Linked DNA regions of Homo sapiens: region 2 is linked to region 1. Evidence: promoter capture Hi-C in 16 types of primary human blood cells and fetal thymus (Javierre and others, 2016). All regions are on one chromosome and are shown on one strand. The core of a region is centred on a gene start or on the middle of the fragment in contact, and the rest is flanking DNA. Distances in the headings are between cores, read along the strand shown.

Region 1 (2,823 bases), core at 321-2,820:
TTTGCCAAAACTCATCAAATAATGCTTTTAAAATGGAAGCATTTTATTTCTGTAAATTATTCCTTGATTTTTTTTAAAAAGCCAACAACAAGAGAGAAGAGTTTTAAGAATAGCAAGTAAACAATGTGAAATGCCATAGGAAGGAAGACAATTCTGAGAAGTGAAAATAACTTGTTTCAATTTTTAAATTTTAGTGATTTTAGAACACTTTTATTGAATCACTTTAAAAGAGTCCTTTTTAAAAGAATGCTTTTTATTGAAAAGATGGGTAGAATCCAACATGCAAGGTATCTTAGTCGTAGTTACCTAGAATGAGAAATTCGAAGAGAAAAAGCACAGGCTTTTCATTTCAATTAGTGCATCTCAAACTTCGATGAACATAGGAATCTCCTGGCGGTCTTGTTAAAGTGCAAGTATTGATTTAGGAAATCTCGAGTGGGGCCTGAGATTCTACATTTCTAACAGGAAACCAAGTAATGTCAATGTTGTTTGTTCATCTACTACAATTTAGGTGGCAAGGACACAGATCGCTCCTGCGAGGCACAAATGCCATAACTGGAGTGCTAATTTGGCCCAGAAGTTTCCAAGATCTAGACAGTCCATTCCTAACCATCAGTTCAAGAATGCCTACATGTAGATTGACAGGCTAGCCCTCTTTCTATGTGAGTGCAACCAGAACACATACATATGATGCTGTAGAAAATAACATTGATCTTAGGTCAGTAGCCTTCGGTTCAAGTCCCAGCCTTTTTCTAACCAACTGTGATAACCTGGGTCAATTACTCGTAGGCTGCAACATGAGAGAACAGTTCCTGTTTCTCCTCTGTAGGTTACTGTGAGGACTACAATGGAAAATGTAAGTGAAAGTACTGCAAGAACCATACCCTAAAAAAAACAGAATAGCTTAAACAAAAGTCAAGCAAAGAATTTGAGAACCAAGCAGGACCTAAAAATAAGAGGTGGGGCTTCGGGATTTTTCCCGTGGGCGTTGAGGGATGTACCATATTGGGGGCAGGGGCGCCCCACAACAAATAATGTATTTGAAAAGATTCTGTATTTGAAATTATGCCTCTATCATGACACCTGAATATGAACTTTTCCTTCGTTAGATACTTCAACTGGCACTTAACTATAAGTTCAGTGACAGTATTCTGCTTCTTTCTCCTGAAGTCAAAGTGCCACCCACGCACCTCTCCCGTTCTGCCATCCACCCGCGGCTTTCCTACCCCCGCCGCCTGCGGCCCCCGCCCCGGGGCAGTAGTTTGCACTAGGCTGAAGGGAGAGGTGGAACGGATTCGTCTATCTACGCACCTCGAGGAGGGGTGTGTGAGGAGCTACGTTCCAGAGAACGGTAAGAAACTCCGGCCAGGAAACACGGGATCACAGGAGAACTCGAGGCGAAGGTGCGGCGTCGGTGCAGGAGCGGAGGGGCGGACCCACAGCAGCCCGGCGAGCGCGCAGGTGTGCCCGCGGCCGCGCCACCCTCCCCGCAGCCTTTACGGGATGGAGCCGGCGGGAGAGGGCGGGGCCAGGCGCGCGGCGGCCGCCTCTGCTGCGGCCGGAAACAATAGTGGAGGAACCCGAGCCGCACGGAACGGCGGTGGTGGCCCGCGGAGCCGGACGGTAAAGACCCCGCAGCCCTGCTCCCATCCCACCTGAGCCCCGACCCCCAGTCCCATCGTTCCGCCTCCTTCGAGTTCCGAGCCCCGTGGCCCCTCGCGCTGCTGCGCGCCAGGCGCCCCGACGGACAGACCGACGGAAAGACGGACTTGGGTCCGCGACTCCCTGGGGGCGGCCGCGCGCCCCCAACGCCGAAGGCCGGGCCAGGACCCGGCTCCCCGAGACGCTGAGGCTGGGCGGACCGGCCGCCGTGGCCCTCGGACGCTTTCTTCCCTCTGGGAGGAATCCCGGAGCGATGGGACGAGGCTCTCCCGCCCGCCGGGCTCCAGGATGCCGCGGCTCTCCCAGCTCCGGCTTGGGCCCCTCCGGCGGTGCCCGGCCGGTACCGTGAAGCCGCCGCTCGGCCTTCGGTGTAGTTGCCCCGGACACGGCGGGACGCCCTCCCCGGGTATTCGGTACCCACGTGCATTTTGCTGCCGCCGATCTCCGTTCGATGCGAAGCTTCGCAACTCCGAGTTCGCGAGGCGCATCTGAGGTTCCCCCAATGAAGTTAGCAAAGCAGTGTCCCGTGCAGGTCGTTTTTCCTGTTTCTCACAGCGTTAACTAGGTTGACAGAACCTGGTAGCTGAAAAGGCCTCGCTGCTAAGCCCTCTGATTATTCGAGGTTGGGGGACGAAGGAGGAGGACTAGAATGCCGGCAAATCTCTTTCCTTCAGGTGCCACTAACCCAATCAACTATAGGACAAAAAAGACACGGACATAGTGTCACCTATGGCCTGGCTTTAAGTTTTACTAGCTTTGTGTCTTTCCACAGGAAAAGTGCAATGTTGGAGTGCAAGTATGGCGATGCTTGTTTGATGGAGCTTTTGCTTTAAATGAGCTGAACAGCATCCTTATTTCCTAGAAGTTCCCAGTAAAGGGAACTACCCCAAAGGCAGGTTCATGAAATTGTGTAACTTTCCTTTTCTGTTTCTTAATAGGGGCACTATGAACGAAGAGGAGCAGTTTGTAAACATTGATTTGAATGATGACAACATTTGCAGTGTTTGTAAACTGGGAACAGACAAAGAAACACTCTCCTTCTGCCACATTTGTTTTGAGCTAAATATTGAGGGTAAGGACACAGTATAGTTTTGATCTTATGGAATGAATTTAACACAGCTGCTTTGTACTGATTGTAAGGTAAAACTAAAATGTCTTCAA
Region 2 (3,034 bases), core at 426-2,925, 2.1 Mb after region 1:
AACTTTCCCAACGTGCCTAAAATAACAATGCACTATCCTTGCTTTCCAAACTTGAGTATCTTCGATTACTTTAAAGCAGTATCATAAAATTCTAAAAATAATCTCAAAGCAAAAATTTAGCAGGCTGTATGTAGACAGCCCATTTTAGAACAGGTCTTATTCTAAAGTCAAGCACAGGTAGAATATTGCAATCTACACCAAATCTACAACAGGGTGGGGCATTCATTACTCACCCAGATAAACCAAACATAACTCTGGTGGTTGATCACAGTAAACCCTAACTGTCCCCGTAATACCAACACAACTAAGGCACGGTTTACTCTTTTGCCCAAAATGCTTTTCACGCAAATTAAAAATTAAAAAAAGAAGTTAAATCATGGCCAACTACTCTTCAGAACATGGTGCAAGCCATGATAGTGCACTTAAGATTCTGAAAGCAAAATCTAAAATAGCAGAATGATCTCTATTCACTTTAAAGATATAAAGTTTCACAAACAGTTTTTTAATTGTTTTCTTTAGTGAGTGACCATTTGAATGTGTGACTGATGCAAGAGTAAAGGGTGAACGAAAGAACAAGGTCAAACTTAGGGGACAAAAGATTCCTGGAATAACATGGCCAGAAAGGTTTCCTCTCTTAGGGACAGTTTCTATATTGAAAAAAAAAAAAAAAAAAAAAAAAACAGAAAAGAAGAAGAAGAAAGGGAAACCTTAAAAGGAAAAGAAACCAAGCAAACCACCTACTTCTAGAGTCCACCTGGTCAACACGCCTGCCCCGCGAGGCAGGTAATTCGATTTTGGTGGAGACCGTTTTGCAAAATAGCAGGCCTGGTACACTACTACCTTTGAAAGACAAAATCGGTTCAGAAAGGATGACAACTAGCTATTCTTTCTCATTTAAGGGGAGAGAATAAAGTTTCATTAAGATGCCACACAGAGCACTGTAGGAATGTGAGGGTCGCTCTCAATACCTGGCACCGTCTGCTACGGGAAAACAATCGGCAGAAGGAAGTGGATTGAAGCCCGCAAACTACACTCTGCTTCCCACACGCAGCTGGGCTCTGGGCGCGACGCCCCCGAGGCGATGGGCAGGGGCCGGGGGTGACCGGGGAGGAAGCCCGGGAAGGCGGCGGCGGCGAGGCCGGGGCGCCCGGCCGCAGCGGGAGAGGACAGCCCGTCGGAAGGAGAAGTGGGGCCCGCCGGCTGGCGGACTCGCCTCACCTTCTGCGCCGCGCTCTGCTGCAGCACGTTCTGCTCCACGGTCATGGCCCCCGCGGCGGCGGCGGCGGCGGCGGCGGTGGCGCCCGGCTCCTCGCGCCTCCGCCGGCCCTGGCTGCCGCGCTCCGCCGAGCTCCAGGGAGCGGCGCGGACGGCCTGGGAGGACAGCGCCCCCGCCAGCCAGGCGCGAAGGCGATGGCGGCCGGCGTGCGCGGGCACCGCGGGCAGGCGGCGAAACGCCGACTGTGAGGGCCACGGCGGCCGCCTCACGTCTCCACGCGGCCCGCCTCAGCGCCGCTCGTCCGCGGCGGCCCGGGCCATGAGCGGGCGGAGGACGCCGGGGCACGGGAGAGCGCGAGCCAGTCGGGCGGCGTCACGCGTTCGCACGTTCCTTTGCTGCCGGTCCGCGGGCTGCTTTGGGGAAGGGAGAGAGGGGACGGAGGGAGCGGCCGCCCGGAATGGCGTTGTCCTCCTCCCTCCGCGAGTCCTCCTCCCTCCCCTCCCCCACGCGCCATCCCCGCCCCCGCCCGGCGGCTCCTCCCCCGCAGAGCCCCGCCCGCCGGCCGCCCTAACCCTACATTGTGACCCTCCGGGCGGCGGGGCGGGGCCGCCATGGAGCCCCGCCCCTCCCTGCGCGGGCCTGGCGTTCCCGGGTGGGGCGAGGGCGCGCCTGGCTGCCTGGCCCGGGAGCCGCCCCTGCGGCAGGTTGCGCGACGCTGGCGCTGGGCTTCGGGGAGCGCGACTGGAGGCCGGAGGGCAGCGTTCCTCCCTGCGCCCAGGGCTTGTCGGATCCCTAGCTTACCCAAAGCCTCCAAAGCAAACATTTCCCTCCATGCCCATAACGTCCCAAAACTGCGTAGGGTCCCGAACTCCGGCCCCTTTCTGTGTCACGCGTTCTCTCCCCTCGCCTTTCTAGGAATTTCACAAGCCTTGAACTTGCCTGAAGGGAAAAGTCAAATAAGCAAAGGGTTGCCAGAAATCTTTATGCTGGGAAGTACTTTTCTCCTTAACTAATCATTACGTAAATGAATATAGACATTTTCTATCTACCTTCATTCATTCGAATATGTGTCAGTCACTGCTAGGCTCTGGAAAAATAAAGTTTATCTTCCCAAGACTTAATATAAATGAAATAGGATCTATCTAGCAAACAACCTTACAAAAATATCACTGCCTAATGATACATAATTCTAATATCCCAGTTGCCAAATTAAGCAAACAATTAACTACCATGCATGGAATGCTTGACTATATATGGAATTGTAAGGAAAATCTAACATTAAGAAAGCAATCTCTAGCCACAAAAATATCTCGAGTTCCAGGAGCTAATCTGGGAACGGAGGTGAGAGTGCAGCAGTGTGAGGAGAGAAATTATCAATGCATATTGTCACAAATAGAATACACTTGAAAATCCGGGTATAATTTTTAATCCAATGACAAGGAAAGCAAGCTTGGCAAATGCTAATTGAAATAGTATGTGGTGTTATTTAATAATCATGGATTATAGTAGCTCTTAAGGCTTTGTAACAGTTCTGTGCACTTTACAACCATCTTTGTTCTGCAGCTCAGATGTCTGGTACCACCTGTTGTCACCTTTTCCTTGAAGCTTCATATTTGTTGACTCATTTGATATTTAACAAATTGCAAATCTTATTATATTAATATCCTATGTCTTTTCTAGAGGAAATGAAAAGTCATGAAACGGTTGGAAACAGAAATTTAGAAATACTGTCACATCTCTAATCTCACGTATCGATTTTTTTATAACTCTGAAGCCCAAGGAGGGTGACCTGTCAAAGAGAGCTTATCAAAACCCATT

Evidence for each region. The method cuts DNA at HindIII sites, captures the fragments that hold promoters and counts their contacts. A CHiCAGO score of 5 or more calls a contact.
Region 2: a contact is called between the fragment with the promoter of USP25 here and the fragment with the promoter of C21orf91 in region 1, in 10 of 17 cell types (non-activated CD4 T cells, fetal thymus, total B cells and 7 more). The highest score is 15.0, in non-activated CD4 T cells.

Annotation. Positions count from the first base shown.
Region 1 is chr21:17,818,103-17,820,925 of GRCh38, reverse strand. It overlaps C21orf91 (chromosome 21 open reading frame 91), which reads left to right and starts at 1,570. Exons shown (of 5, transcript NM_001100420.2): 1 at 1,570-1,623; 2 at 2,601-2,734. The coding sequence starts at 2,608. The region is part of intron 2 of LOC124900465 (a long non-coding RNA gene); the gene reads right to left. RefSeq lists an enhancer at 876-925 and a silencer at 1,176-1,955. The HindIII fragment of the contact is 2,618 bases long and covers 1-2,123 here.
Region 2 is chr21:15,728,623-15,731,656 of GRCh38, reverse strand. It overlaps USP25 (ubiquitin specific peptidase 25), which reads right to left and starts at 1,675. Exons shown (of 26, transcript NM_001283041.3): 1 at 1,219-1,675. The coding sequence starts at 1,263. RefSeq lists a silencer at 1,111-2,070. The HindIII fragment of the contact is 4,884 bases long and covers 1-2,667 here.